Regions from separate parts of the Homo sapiens genome. Here region 2 is linked to region 1. The links are contacts of gene promoters, found by promoter capture Hi-C in human tissues and cell types (Jung and others, 2019). All regions are on one chromosome and are shown on one strand. Each heading gives the region's core, a stretch centred on a gene start or on the middle of the fragment in contact. The rest is flanking DNA. Distances are from core to core; before and after follow the strand shown.

Region 1 (6,560 bases), core at 1,258-3,757:
GCCACTCAGGAAGCTAAGGTAAGAGGATGGCTTGAGCCTGGGAGGTTGAGGCTACAGTGAGCCAAGACAGAGCCACTGCACTCCAGCCTGGACAACAGAGCCAGACTCTGTCTCAAAAAAAAAAGAAAGAGAGAGAGGGAGGGAGGCAGAGAGGGAGAGAGAGAGAGACAGAGAGAAAGAGAGAGAGAGAAAGAAAGAAAAGAAAGAAAGAAAGAAAGAAAGACGGAAGGAAAGAAAGAAGGAGAAAAGTAGGAGTTAGTCATCCAGGCCAAGAGTATGAAGTTTGTCTTCAAAGAACTCCTGAATTTGTGGGGGAACTAGATATAGACGTTTGACGAACACGTTTTTATTTATTAGAGGTTATGAGACTAGCGAGTAGGGTGGAAGGAGGAAAGTGGCAGGAAAATCATACTGGAAAGGTAGGTTGGGAACCAACTGTGAAGGACCTTGTACGTCAATCCAAGGAATGTGACCTTCAACCTAGAGCAAGAGGTGACAAACTCAAAATCCCACAGAGACTAGGCTTGCCAATGAGGAAAGCCAACCAGGTGTAAGGCAATAGGGAGTGGTGGGGACTGTGGCAAACAGTAAAGCTCATTCTCTGTCTACAGGGGCTCATTCTCTGTCTCTACTCCATCTACTCTAAGCTCCAGCTGATTGTTTCCATGTGGGAGTGTCGGTCCAGTGTGGCCAGATCTTCCAGTGTTCTAAGAGACAACAGAAATCCAGGTTTTTATAGGACTGCACCAGGTTTTAAAAACATATCGGCCAAGCCAGGCTGGTTTTTAAACCAGATATGGTCCACAGGCCATCATTCTAGCCCCTTGGCAGATTGAAGGGAGCTAGTGAAGATTTTTAAGTGAAAAAAGGTATATGATAATATCTGTGCTTCAGAAAAATCAGATTATTGTGTAGAAGATGACTTACAGGAAATAGATGAGAGGAAGGGAAACCAGTTAGGAAACTGTTTCAACAGTTCAGGTGGGAAGTGACTGCGGTCTGTGCTAGGGCGAGGCAGGGGAGAATGTGGGTGGACAGATTTGGAGTCCAGCATCCAGTGGGAAGAATTTAGCTTCAGTGTGCATCTAGAAGACAGACACATTCTTTCAATGCACCCCCTCTTTTCCGCCCCATTTTTTTTTTTTGAGACAGAGTTTCTTTCTGTCACCCAGGCTGGAGTTCATTGGCACGATCTCGGCTCACTGCAACCTCCACCTCCCGGGTTCAAGTGATTCTCCTGCCTCAGCCTCCTGAGTAACTGGGATTACAGACACATGCCACAACACCTGACTGATTTTTGTATATTTTTAGTAGAGATGGGGTTTCACCATGTTGGCAAGGCTGGTCTTGTACTCCTGACCTCAAGTCATCCACCTGCCTCGGCCTCCCAAAGTGCTGGGATTATAGATGTGAGCCACCGCGACTGGCCTCCACCCCATTTTCTTCTTTCTTTCTTTTTTCTTTTTCTTTTTCTTGTTGTTTTGTTTGTTTGTTTGTTTGTTTGTTTTAGACGGAGTCTGGTTCTGTCACCCAGACTGGAGTGCAGTGGCGCAATCTTGGCTCCCTGCAAGCTCTGCCTCCCGGGTTCACGCCATTCTCCTGCCTCAGCCTCCCGAGTAGCTGGGACTACAGGCGCCCGCCACCACGCCTGGCTCATTTTTTTGTATTTTTAGTAGAGACGGGGTTTTACCGTGTTAGCCAGGATGGTCTCCATCTCCTGACCTGGTGATCCGCCCGCCTGGGCCTACCAAAGTGCTTGGATTACAAGCGTGAGCCACCGCGCCCGGCCTCCACCCCATTTTCTAAACTGGAAGCTGAAAGGCACAGGGCAGATTAATAATCCTTAAAGCCAAAGGACAGGAAATTTTAGCAAAGACTCCAATTTTTTGTGCAGTCTAATGTTACTCATGATTGCTTTAGAGATGGACTCCTTAATCAACTCCTCCAATCCTCTTCCGCCCCCAGGGGGCAGTTTTAATTGATGGGCTCAGCACATAATTGAAATTAAAAACGTACATCTCATGGTGTTTGGCTCATTCAACAGCCAATGGAAACTCAGGGCCAAATCTTTGTAAAAGTTCTAGGCTCTGCTTCCCAGCAGAGGGGGAAACCGGCTCCCAAAGAGGCCGTTTTGTGGAGACAGACATATGAGAAGTGGGCTTCAGATCTATTTCATGGTCTTGGTGGTTGTGCAACTGGCCACTTTGGTTCACGGAAGGATGTAAAGGGCAGGGAGGTGGGAATAGAGCGGGGGAAAGGTGACTCCCGTCAAAGAATTTTTCTAACATCCATCAAGTATCGTGATTAGAACTTTTCTCTCCGCAGACTCCTCCAATTTTTGAGCGCGGTATTTTTCGGCACAGGAAATGGCCCGGAGGAGCTGCAGAGCAAAGCCTCCCCTCTCTGGCACCGCATGGGAGTGCCCCGTGGGATGAGGGAGAGGACAAGGCAGTCAGGCAAAGGTTACGGGAGGAAAGCAAAGGCAGGAGCCCAGAACCACTCCAGGAAATGTTTGGATTTCTCCACCAGGAGGGAGGACAAACAAGCTTTCTTCTTGCCTTCTGGGCAGCTTTGTGTGCTCTCCAGCACGGAGTCCGAGGAGGAACAGCGAAGCTGAAAATGAAAATTACTCTGGCGCTGGACCCAATCGCTCCTCTACGGCATCAATCTCATCGGACCCCCCCACCCTACCGCCTCTCAGAAATGACCACTTTTGCAAAATTGCATGCATTTCCAAGCTTCATCCGGCTCCAGGCTTGGCCTCTCCCAGAGGCAGGCGGCTTGTGAGACGGGCTCCAGAGAAAGGACCTCCCTGGGTCTCTCATTTCCTGGCTGAAGTTTCTCTTCTCGCTGCTGTGGCAGCATCCAACCCACACACACAGGACCCGCATCCTGGGTGATGAAGTCAGACACGCAGCAGCTGGGTGAGTGCTAACGCTCAGATAAGCATCTGTGCCATTGTGGGGACTCCCTGGGCTGCTCTGCACCCGGACACTTGCTCTGTCCCCGCCATGTACAACGGGTCGTGCTGCCGCATCGAGGGGGACACCATCTCCCAGGTGATGCCGCCGCTGCTCATTGTGGCCTTTGTGCTGGGCGCACTAGGCAATGGGGTCGCCCTGTGTGGTTTCTGCTTCCACATGAAGACCTGGAAGCCCAGCACTGTTTACCTTTTCAATTTGGCCGTGGCTGATTTCCTCCTTATGATCTGCCTGCCTTTTCGGACAGACTATTACCTCAGACGTAGACACTGGGCTTTTGGGGACATTCCCTGCCGAGTGGGGCTCTTCACGTTGGCCATGAACAGGGCCGGGAGCATCGTGTTCCTTACGGTGGTGGCTGCGGACAGGTATTTCAAAGTGGTCCACCCCCACCACGCGGTGAACACTATCTCCACCCGGGTGGCGGCTGGCATCGTCTGCACCCTGTGGGCCCTGGTCATCCTGGGAACAGTGTATCTTTTGCTGGAGAACCATCTCTGCGTGCAAGAGACGGCCGTCTCCTGTGAGAGCTTCATCATGGAGTCGGCCAATGGCTGGCATGACATCATGTTCCAGCTGGAGTTCTTTATGCCCCTCGGCATCATCTTATTTTGCTCCTTCAAGATTGTTTGGAGCCTGAGGCGGAGGCAGCAGCTGGCCAGACAGGCTCGGATGAAGAAGGCGACCCGGTTCATCATGGTGGTGGCAATTGTGTTCATCACATGCTACCTGCCCAGCGTGTCTGCTAGACTCTATTTCCTCTGGACGGTGCCCTCGAGTGCCTGCGATCCCTCTGTCCATGGGGCCCTGCACATAACCCTCAGCTTCACCTACATGAACAGCATGCTGGATCCCCTGGTGTATTATTTTTCAAGCCCCTCCTTTCCCAAATTCTACAACAAGCTCAAAATCTGCAGTCTGAAACCCAAGCAGCCAGGACACTCAAAAACACAAAGGCCGGAAGAGATGCCAATTTCGAACCTCGGTCGCAGGAGTTGCATCAGTGTGGCAAATAGTTTCCAAAGCCAGTCTGATGGGCAATGGGATCCCCACATTGTTGAGTGGCACTGAACAAGCAGACCAACAACACTGAGGAAGATAGAGTGGTGACTTAGAATTAACTCGTGCTAAGGGGTCGGGGGCTTTGAAAATGCCACCCCCCTTTCTTATTGCAAGACGGCTTCTCGCACATGAACTGCATCCTTCTCATTCTGTCGGAAATGAAATTCACACAACTATACCTTTTGGGGAGGTTCCAGTTGATTGAAGTGAGTTGGCTGCATTTTCTTATCTGATCACAATGGCAGGGGACAGAATGTGCATGGAGTGGAGCATGTGTGTGTTGGGAGGGGGGCTAGGAACTGCACAGCCCTTGTGTAATTTTCGTTGTTTGTTTTTGTTTTGAGACAGAGTCTCACTCTGTGTCCCAGGCTGGAGTGCAGTGGCACAGTCTCGGCTCACTGCAACCTCTGCCTCCCGGGTTCAAGCAATTCTCCTGCCTCAGCCTCCCGAGTAGCTGGGATTAGAGGCGCCAGCCAACACACCCGGCTAATTTTTGTATTTTTAGTAGAGACAGGGTTTTGCCATGTTGGCCAGGCTGGTCTCGAGCTCCTGACCTCAGGTGATCCGCCTGCCTTGGCCTCCCAAAGTGGTGGGATCACAGGCGTGAGCCACCGTGCCTGGCCTCCCCTGTGTCATTTTAAATGGCTAAGTAAATGGGTATATGTGTTTGAATGGGGCATGTTCACTCTCTTAGGGGCTATGGGGCAGTTAGCAGCATTTCCTATCCTCTGACCTTAAATCATTCCTTATCTCAGAAAACAGAAACCGGGCTCAGTCAATCAATGCTTTATTTCAGGCCGAATGAGGCTCTTTAGATTGGGATCTATTGATCTATCAATTTTCATCTTTACATTTCTTTGTACATCTGTACATTTTGTCCAAATGTACATCTGTACGTCTGTCATCATTGTGACTTCCTGGTAGCCCAAGAAGAACAACAACAAAACAATCTGCTCTGACCTTCTTCAAATCTTTGTATTTCAAAGAAGGTGCTGAGGGATCTGTTTCCTTGCCCTGGCTTCTCCAGTGGGATGTGCTGAGTCCAATACAATTGCTTTTATAATTGCTTTTGACAACTTGTCATGTGACTGTGAATTGAAATTATTCACTTATTTTCCAAGTATTTACTGAATTCGTATTTGGTGGCAGGCAGTATACTGTGTAATTTTTAGTGGAGGGTCATTAGTCAACTCTTATGTGACAGTAAAGTTTTTTGGGGGGGTGGGGACAGAGAAGTTAAGAGCTTTCATCCTTTCACGGAATACAGTTTCTAGACCGATTCTGTGTGAACATCAGTTTTGTCCTCTTATTGCAAGACTCCCTCATACACATGAGTTTCCCAAATGTGTACCTGGACCCCTCGAAACAGAGGACTCTACGAAATGACAAGCTGCCCCTGCCCTGAATTAGGGGGAAACATTCCAGGCCAACTCTAGCTCCTTTCTCAAGCTACAAAGTGGTGAACATGGTTCTCAACTCCTTAATTTATACTCTCTCAAATGCCCAGGATACTCTACCCACTTAAGAACCTTGCCAACTTCTGGGGGTTGGGCATGGTGGCTCACGCTTGTGATCCCAGCACTTTGGGAGACTGAGGCGGATCACCTGAGGTCAGGAGTTCTAGACCAGCCTGACCAACATGGAGAAACCTCGTCTCTACTAAAAATTCAAAATTAGCCTGGTGTGGTGGCGCATGCCTATAATCCCAGCTATTCGGGAGGCTGAGGCAGGAGAATCACTTGAACCGAGGAGGTGGAGGTTGCGGTGAGGTGACATCGTGCCATTGCACTCCAGACTGGGCCACAGGAGTGAAACGCCGTCTCAAAAAAAAAAAAGAACTTTGCCAACTTCTAGTTCTTTGGCCTCAAAACACCCCTCTAGGCTGTCCCTATTATTCCTTTTTTCAGAGGCACTGTGCAGCCTAGTGATGAAAAGTACGAGCTATAGAGCATTAGAAGCATCGAAGTTTGAATCTCAGCTCAAGCATTTACTAGGCCTGTGATCTTAGGGCAGCTTGTGTTTTTAGACACTGAATCTTGCTCTGTTGCCCAGGCTGGAGTGCAGTGAGTGGCATGATCATAGCTCACTGCAGCCTCAAACTCCTGGGCTCAAGTGTTCCTCCCACCTCAGCCTCCTGAATAGCTGGGAGTACAGGCATAAGCCACCACACTCAGCTAATTTTTAAATTTTTTTTATAGAGACGAGGTCTCACTCACTGTGTTGCCCAAGCTGGTCTCAAACTCCTGGCCTCCAGCAATCCTCCCACCTTGGCCTCCCAAAGTATTGCGATTGCCAGCATGAGCCACTGCTCCCAGCCTGGCATATATATAGATATATATAGAGATATATAGATATCTATCTATCTATATATATATATATTTTTTTTTTTTTTTTTGAGACAGAGTCTTGCTCTATCACCCAGGCTGGAGTACAGTGGCCCAATCTCAGCTCACTGCAAGCTCTGCCTCCTGGGTCCACGCCATTCTCCTGCCTCAGCCTCCAGAGTAGCTGGGACTA
Region 2 (7,081 bases), core at 2,164-4,663, 410 kb after region 1:
TAGCCAGGCGTGCTGGCAGGTGCCTGTAGTCCCAGCTACTGGGGAGGCTGAGGCAGAATGGCATGAACCCGGGAGGCGGAGCTTGCAGTGAGCGGAGATCATGCCACTGCACTCCAGCCTGTGCGACAGAGCGAGACTCCGCCCCCCCAAAACAAAACAAAACAAAACAAAACAAAACAAAATTTCTTGCCTAGTTCTGATGTTATTAATTACACATAACTTTTGAAAATAATTACAATTATTAATAGTATATTTTAATATAACTTAAATTTAAAACATTCTTATGAAAAATCTGACACCTTATATTGAAACTTTTTCTAGAGATGTAGAAGAATTACAGCTAAAACTTACAAAGGCTAATGAAAATGCAAGTTTTCTGCAAAAAAGTATTGAGGACATGACTGTCAAAGCTGAACAGAGCCAGCAAGAAGCAGCTAAAAAGCATGAGGAAGAAAAGAAAGAATTGGAGAGGAAATTGTCGGACCTGGTAAGGAGATACTCAGTGGGCCTGTTGGCTGGCAAGGAAGGCAAGGGATAGTACACGCATGGGCAGATGACTCATTCCCTCATTCGGGGTCTCTGCAGGAAAAGAAAATGGAAACAAGCCACAACCAGTGTCAGGAGCTGAAAGCCAGGTATGAGAGAGCCACTTCTGAGACAAAAACCAAGCATGAAGAAATCCTACAGAACCTCCAGAAGACGCTGCTGGACACAGAGGACAAGCTGAAGGGCGCACGGGAGGAGAACAGTGGCTTGCTGCAGGAGCTGGAGGAGCTGAGAAAGCAAGCCGACAAAGCCAAAGTACGTGACGCGAGAGAATTTCCTTGTGTTGTAGCTTGCCTGAGCTCTGTGTCGAGGCAGGAAGGGTGCTTAGAAAGCAGCAGCCAGTGGGAAAAGTTAAGGTGGCCTCTACAGACGTTACCCTTCTGAGTGCGTGGCAGGGTGGTACATTACATTTCCTATGGCTTCAAGTGTTTTGTGCCAGCTGCTGTTCCTTCTCGGACGGTGTTTCCTGCCAGTCTTTCCTGGAATGGACTGTGTAGCCATCACCCCTGTGCTGCTTGTTTCCCAGAGGTCACAAAGGTTCTTTCGTTGCCTGAGCTCTGCTTGCCTGCTTGTTCCTCTAATCTTGGCCGTGCTTGTTGCTGCCTTGCACTAGGGTTTGGAGAGATGTTGCGATAAAGCAAGAGGCAGAGGTCACATGAAGTAAGCAAGCAAGGAATCAGGACTAGAGAGAGCCTGGTTGGAGGAACAGAGCTCTTCTAGGAAGAGTTAGAATTGAGAACTCCACAGAGGGCTTTATGTGTCCCCAGGAAGGTACTGTGAGCTTATTGACAAGGAAGCTGGATTCAAGGGCAGGGAGGAAACACCTTGTTAGTAGATAGAGCAGAATTTGATATGTTGGATTTCATTTTATGGTTTTAGGATTGTATCTGTGCCCAATATATATTTTTTCTTTTTTTTGTAGAGAATGGGGTCTTGCTGTGTTGCCCAGGCTGGTCTCAAACTCCTGGGCTCAAGCAGTCCTCCCATCTTGGCCTCTTAAAGTGTTGGGATTACAGGTGTGAGCCACCATGCCTGGCCTGCCCAGTACATTTTGTGACTCTGGTAACTTCACGAAGTTCAACCTTGCCCACTGTTTAACCTTCTATTGCTCAAAGGAAAGTAAATATTCACCTTTCTTTATTTTTAATGTGTTTATAGGAGTTTAGTAGAAAGAAATGATAAAAGAGCATATATAGGACTTGAAACCAATCTCATGAAAAGCCTCTTGCTAACTAAGTGGACATGACATGGTATGTGTGTGCCGTGCATGTCATCTGGGAGGCCCATATTCTCCCTCTTCTACATGCTGATAGTTGAGGATTTCTCTTCTTTCTGTGAAATACCTCCAGTTTTATGAGCCATTTAACACTAGATACAATTCCCAGATCTTTTGTCTTTGTGGTTTCCTTTATCTGTGCAGACTTCAGTTTTTTTTTTGTATTTCCTTTAAAATGTTTCAGCCTGAGCAAACCACAGCATCGCAGAAGCTGATGTAAGGTCTCCTCGGTTGTTGTTTGTTTTTTTGAGACAAGGTCTCACTCTGTCACCCAGGCTGAGTGCAGCGGCACAGTCATGGCTCACTGCAGCCTCAACCTCTCGGGCTCAAGTGATCCCCTTGCCTCAGCTTCCCAAGTAGCTGAGACTAAAAGCACGTGCCACTACACCTGGCTAATTTTTTATTTTTTGTAGAGACAGAGTCTCGCTATGTTGCTCAGGCTGGTCTCGAACCCCTGGATGCAAGCGATCCACCTGCTTCAGCTTCCCAAGGTGCTGGGATTGCAGGCGTGATTCATCGTTCCTGGCCAGTCTCACAAGGCGCTGGGGTTGCAGGCGTGAGCCACCATTCCTGGCCAGTCTCACAAGGCGCTGGGGTTGCAGGCGTGAGCCACCATTCCTGGCCAGTCTCACAAGGTGCTGGGATTGCAGGCATGAGCCACCATTCCTGGCCAGTCTCACTGATTTTGTTGGTTGGTTTTGTGCAAGAGTCATTGAGTTAAAAATGCCAGGACTGTTCCCCTCCAAACGTGTCTAGTATCTAATTTCAGTGGATCGTAATCAGTCCCAGACTCTTTGGAATAATCTAATGAAATCTACAGATATTTTTTCAGGAAAGTTTACGTGTGCACTCAACAAGGTTCCTGGAACCCATGAAGCCTCCTATTCCCTACTTTTAAGAGCCAGTGGGCTATAGCTGTGCTGCCTAATGTAGTAGCCACCAGCCATGTGAGGCCATTCAAATGTAAATTTGTAGCCAGTTCTGGTGGCTCACGCCTGTAATCCTAGCACTTTGGGAGGCCAAGGTGGGCAGATTGCCTGAGCACAGGAGTTTGAGACCACCCTGGACAACATCGTGAGACCGTCTCTACTACAAATACAAAAAATTAATTGGGTGTGGTGGCACACACCTGTAGTCCCAGCTACTCAGGAGGCTGAGGCAGGAGAATCCTTTGAGCCTGGGAGGCGGAGGCTGCAGTGAGCTGAGATGGTGCCACTGCACTCTGGCCTGGGTGACAGAGTGAGACTGTCTCAAAAAATAAATAAAAATAAAAACCTTAATATGGGAATATATGCGGTCTACATTATTTTCTCTATTTTTGTATATGCTTAAAAGAGGATCGCTTGAAACTGGGAGGCAGAGGTTGCAGTGAGCCGAGATCGCGCCACTTCCCTCCAGCCTGGGCCACAGAGTGAGACTCTGCCTCCAAAATAAATAAATAAATAAATAAATTTAAATTTGTTACATTTTAATTAAAAATTTAGCTCCTCAGTTGCACTCACCACATTTCAGGTGCTCAGTAGTCATATGGTCACCATGATGGGAGTGCAAATAAGAACATTTATATCAGCTGGGCGTGGTGGCTCATGCCTGTAATCCCAGCACTTCGGGAGGCCTAGGTGGGTGGATCACTTGGGGTCAGGAGTTTGAGACCAGCCTGGCCAACATGGTGAAACCCCGTCTCTACTAAAAATACAAAAATTAGCCGGGCACGGTGGCGGAGCCTTGTAATCCCAGCTACTTGGGAGGCTGAGGCATGAGAATAGCTTGAACCCAGAGGCGGAGGTTGCAGTGAGCCAAGATCGCACCATTGCACTCCAGCCTGGGCAATAGATAGAGCGAGACTCAGTCTCAAAAAAAAAAAAAAAAAATTATATCATTGCAGAAAGTTCTGGATAGCACTGGTATAGACACTGTGGTCAAATTATCTTATAATTCAGTAAATAAAAAAAAAAAACTATTCCTTTTAGTCAGCAAAGCCTAGAAATTAGGCTGTAGTTTTTAAGTTATATGTGATATTGGGACTAAATCACTCTCAGCCCCTCAGCTACCCTTAAGTAAGGTCCTGTGGTGAGTTTGGAAGGCAGTAGTTTATTTTCCCTTGTTATGCCCCTTCCTTTTTTCATTAAAATATACTGAGTTTTTGTACTTCTTTTAATTGTATTTTTAAAAATTGTTCTATGAATCCTTTCTGCTTTCAAAGTAATTTGATAATTGGAATGGCAGGAAAGAATCTTATGCCCTGATATTAAAATCAAGCTACTATTTTTATCTTCTAGGTAGCTACTGGGAATAATTTCACAAGTTGTTTCAAAGATAAAATAAGCTAACAGATACAGAAGCACTTTGCAAAACTACACTTTTGACTTACCTTTTTATGGGCTCTGTTTAGTTTCTTTCCCTTGTTATTCAGATAGTTTCTATAAAGTTTATTGTAGAAATTGTAAAGTTTTTATCATTTAGGTTACATTAAGTTATTTGGGCTTGCATTTGTCTGCTTGATTTCATTTTTGTTTCCATTCTTTCCATCTTTTGTTTCTGTAGTCGCTAACTTATTTGTTAACATCAGCCAAAAAAGAAATTGAACTAATGTCAGAAGAGCTGAGGGGTCTGAAATCAGAGAAGCAGCTTCTTTCTCAGGAGGGAAATGATTTAAAGTTAGAAAACGGTTCACTTTTATCCAAGCTTGTAGAATTGGAGGCCAAAATAGCTTTACTTCAGGGAGACCAGCAGAAACTGTGGTCAGTGAATGAAACTCTTAATTTAGAAAAGGAGAAATTCTTAGAAGAAAAGCAAGATGCCGAAAAGTATTATGAGCAGGAACATCTCAATAAAGAAGCTTTGGCTGTTGAGAGAGAGAAATTGCTTAAAGAAATCAATGTTGTACAGGAAGAACTCTTGAAGATAAATGTGGAAAATGACTCTTTGCAAGCTTCCAAGGTGAGCATGCAGGCACTCATTGAAGAGCTCCAGCTCAGCAAAGATACTTTGATTGCTAAGACTGAGAAGGACCAGGAAGAAAAAGATCACCTGGAGGACCAGATCAAGAAACTTATTACCGAAAACTTCATCTTGGCCAAAGATAAGGATGACATCATTCAGAAGCTTCAAAGGTCTTATGAGGAGCTAGTCAAAGATCAGAAAGCTTTGGTACAGGAGACTGAAGATCTCACAGCTGAGAAAAAGTCAGCTTTAGAGAAATTGTCCAATCTCGATAACACGTGCATAGCCTTAAAGGTAGAACGAGATAATGTTCTTCAGAACAACAGAAATCTGCAGTTAGAGACGGACATGCTGCTTCAAGATCAGGAAAAGCTGAATGCCAGCCTCCAGGCCGCTCTCCAGGTCAAACAGCTGCTCCGCTCAGAAGCCAGTGGGCTCCGCGCACAGCTGGATGATGCCAGCAAGGCCCTGAGGAAGGCAGAGCTGGAGACCGTGCAACTCGAGGCCGCAAACACAAGCCTCACGAAGCTCTTGGAGGAAATTAAGGCCAGGCGGGCGGTCACGGACTCCGAGTGCATCCAGCTTCTGCATGAGAAAGAAACCTTGGCTGCCTCCGAGAGAAGGCTCTTGGCTGAGAAAGAGGAACTTTTAAGTGAAAATAGAATAATCACTGAAAAACTCCACAAATGCTTAGAAGAGGCTGCCCATACTGAGATGAGCCTGAATGAGAAGATCACTTACCTGACTTCCGAGAAGGAGATGGCTTCTCAGAAAATGACTGAACTTAAAAAGCAGCAGGATAGTCTCTTGAAAGAAAAATCCTCACTGGAAACGCAAAATGGAGCTTTACTTGCAGAGAGAGAGAATTCCATCAAAGCCATAGGAGACCTCAAAAGGCAATGTGATCAAGAGTCTGCAAACAGAAGTTTAGTTGTGCAAGAGAATATGAAACTCCTCGGTAATATTGATGCTCTGAAGAAGGAGCTTCAAGAGAGAAAAAAGGAAAACCAAGAACTAGTGGCCAGCAAGTGCGACCTCTCTTTGATGCTGAAAGAGGCTCAAAATACCAAAAAGAATCTGGAAAAAGAACACACTCACATATTGCAAGCAAAGGAGAGTTTGGATGCTCAACTTAACACGTGTTGTTCCGAGAAGAACATTTTGCTGAGAGATGGCTTGAACCTGCAAGAAGAGTGTCACAAATTAAGCAAGGAGATCCAGGAAATGCAGCAGTCCTTAATCCTGGAACAGGAAGCCAGAGCAAAGGAGAGCGAGTCATCCTTGTACGAAAACAATCAACTTCACGGGAGGATGGTGCTCCTGGAGCAGGAGGTGGAGGAGTTAAGAGTGTGTATCGAGGAGCTGCAGTCCGAGAAGTTTGTGCTACTTCAAGAGAAGAGCAAATCAGAGCAAGAACTGGCAGAGATAATCGAGGAGAAGGAACTGTTGACTGCAGAAGCAGCTCAACTTGCTGCCCATATAAAGACTCTGAAAAGTGATTTTGCTGCCTTGTCCAAATCCAAGGCAGAGCTGCAGGAACTGCACAGCTGCCTCACCAAGATTCTGGATGACCTTCAGCGGAACCATGAGGTGACCCTGGCCGAAAAAGCCCAGGTGATGCAAGACAACCAGAACCTCCTGGCTGAGAAGAGCGAAATGATGCTGGAAAAGGATGAGCTCCTGAAGGAGAAGGAAACCCTGGCAGAAAGCTACTTCATCCTTCAGAAAGAGATCAGCCAGTTGGCCAAAACCAACAGCCATATTTCAGCCAATCTCCTAGAATCTCAAAATGAAAACCGTACTTTGAGAAAAGACAAGAACAAGCTTACTCTTAAAATTAGAGAGCTCGAGACTCTTCAGTCATTTACGGTAAAGTGAGAGGGTCAAGTATTGAGCACCCAGACTGCTTACTAACACTGTGCACTAACTCAAGTGGTGTAGGTCATCTTTCTTCATTTCTGCTTATGGAAATCCACCTCATTAAGTCAGTTGCTTATATGTCTCAAGCTGTTCGTTACAGTCTGAAAGGGGGATTCTTTACTAAGTATCTCACTGTAGTAGTCTCTCCCCATTTGAAAAAAATTGCAAACTGTGAATAAAAAGGATTTATTTTTTAATCTAAGGAGAAACTTTATGAAAAAGCTTAAGAGCAATAGTGAAATTCGGCTGGGCGCAGTGGCTCACGCCTGTAATCCCAGCACTTTGGGAGGCTGAGGTGGACAGATGGCTTCAGTCTAGGAGTTCGAGACCAGCCTGGGCAACATGGCAAAACCCTGTCTCTACAAAAAATACAGTAATTAGCTGGGCATGGTGACA

The links. The method cuts DNA at HindIII sites, captures the fragments that hold promoters and counts their contacts. A contact is called where the count stands out against the background at its distance.
Region 2: a contact is called between a fragment that was not itself captured here and the fragment with the promoter of HCAR1 in region 1, in 9 of the 25 tissues and cell types used here (IMR-90 fibroblasts, bladder, dorsolateral prefrontal cortex and 6 more).

Annotation. Positions count from the first base shown.
Region 1 is chr12:122,726,791-122,733,350 of GRCh38, reverse strand. HCAR1 (hydroxycarboxylic acid receptor 1) reads left to right here and starts at 2,507. Exons shown (of 1, transcript NM_032554.4): 1 at 2,507-6,560. The coding sequence starts at 3,012. The coding sequence ends at 4,052. RefSeq lists an enhancer at 3,078-3,745. The HindIII fragment of the contact is 12,382 bases long and covers 1-6,560 here.
Region 2 is chr12:122,321,667-122,328,747 of GRCh38, reverse strand. It overlaps CLIP1 (CAP-Gly domain containing linker protein 1), which reads left to right. Exons shown (of 26, transcript NM_001247997.2): 16 at 322-487; 17 at 586-801. It also overlaps the pseudogene CCDC150P1. Among named protein-coding and RNA genes, the nearest start is that of VPS33A, 59 kb to the right of the region's middle. The HindIII fragment of the contact is 8,257 bases long and covers 1-7,081 here.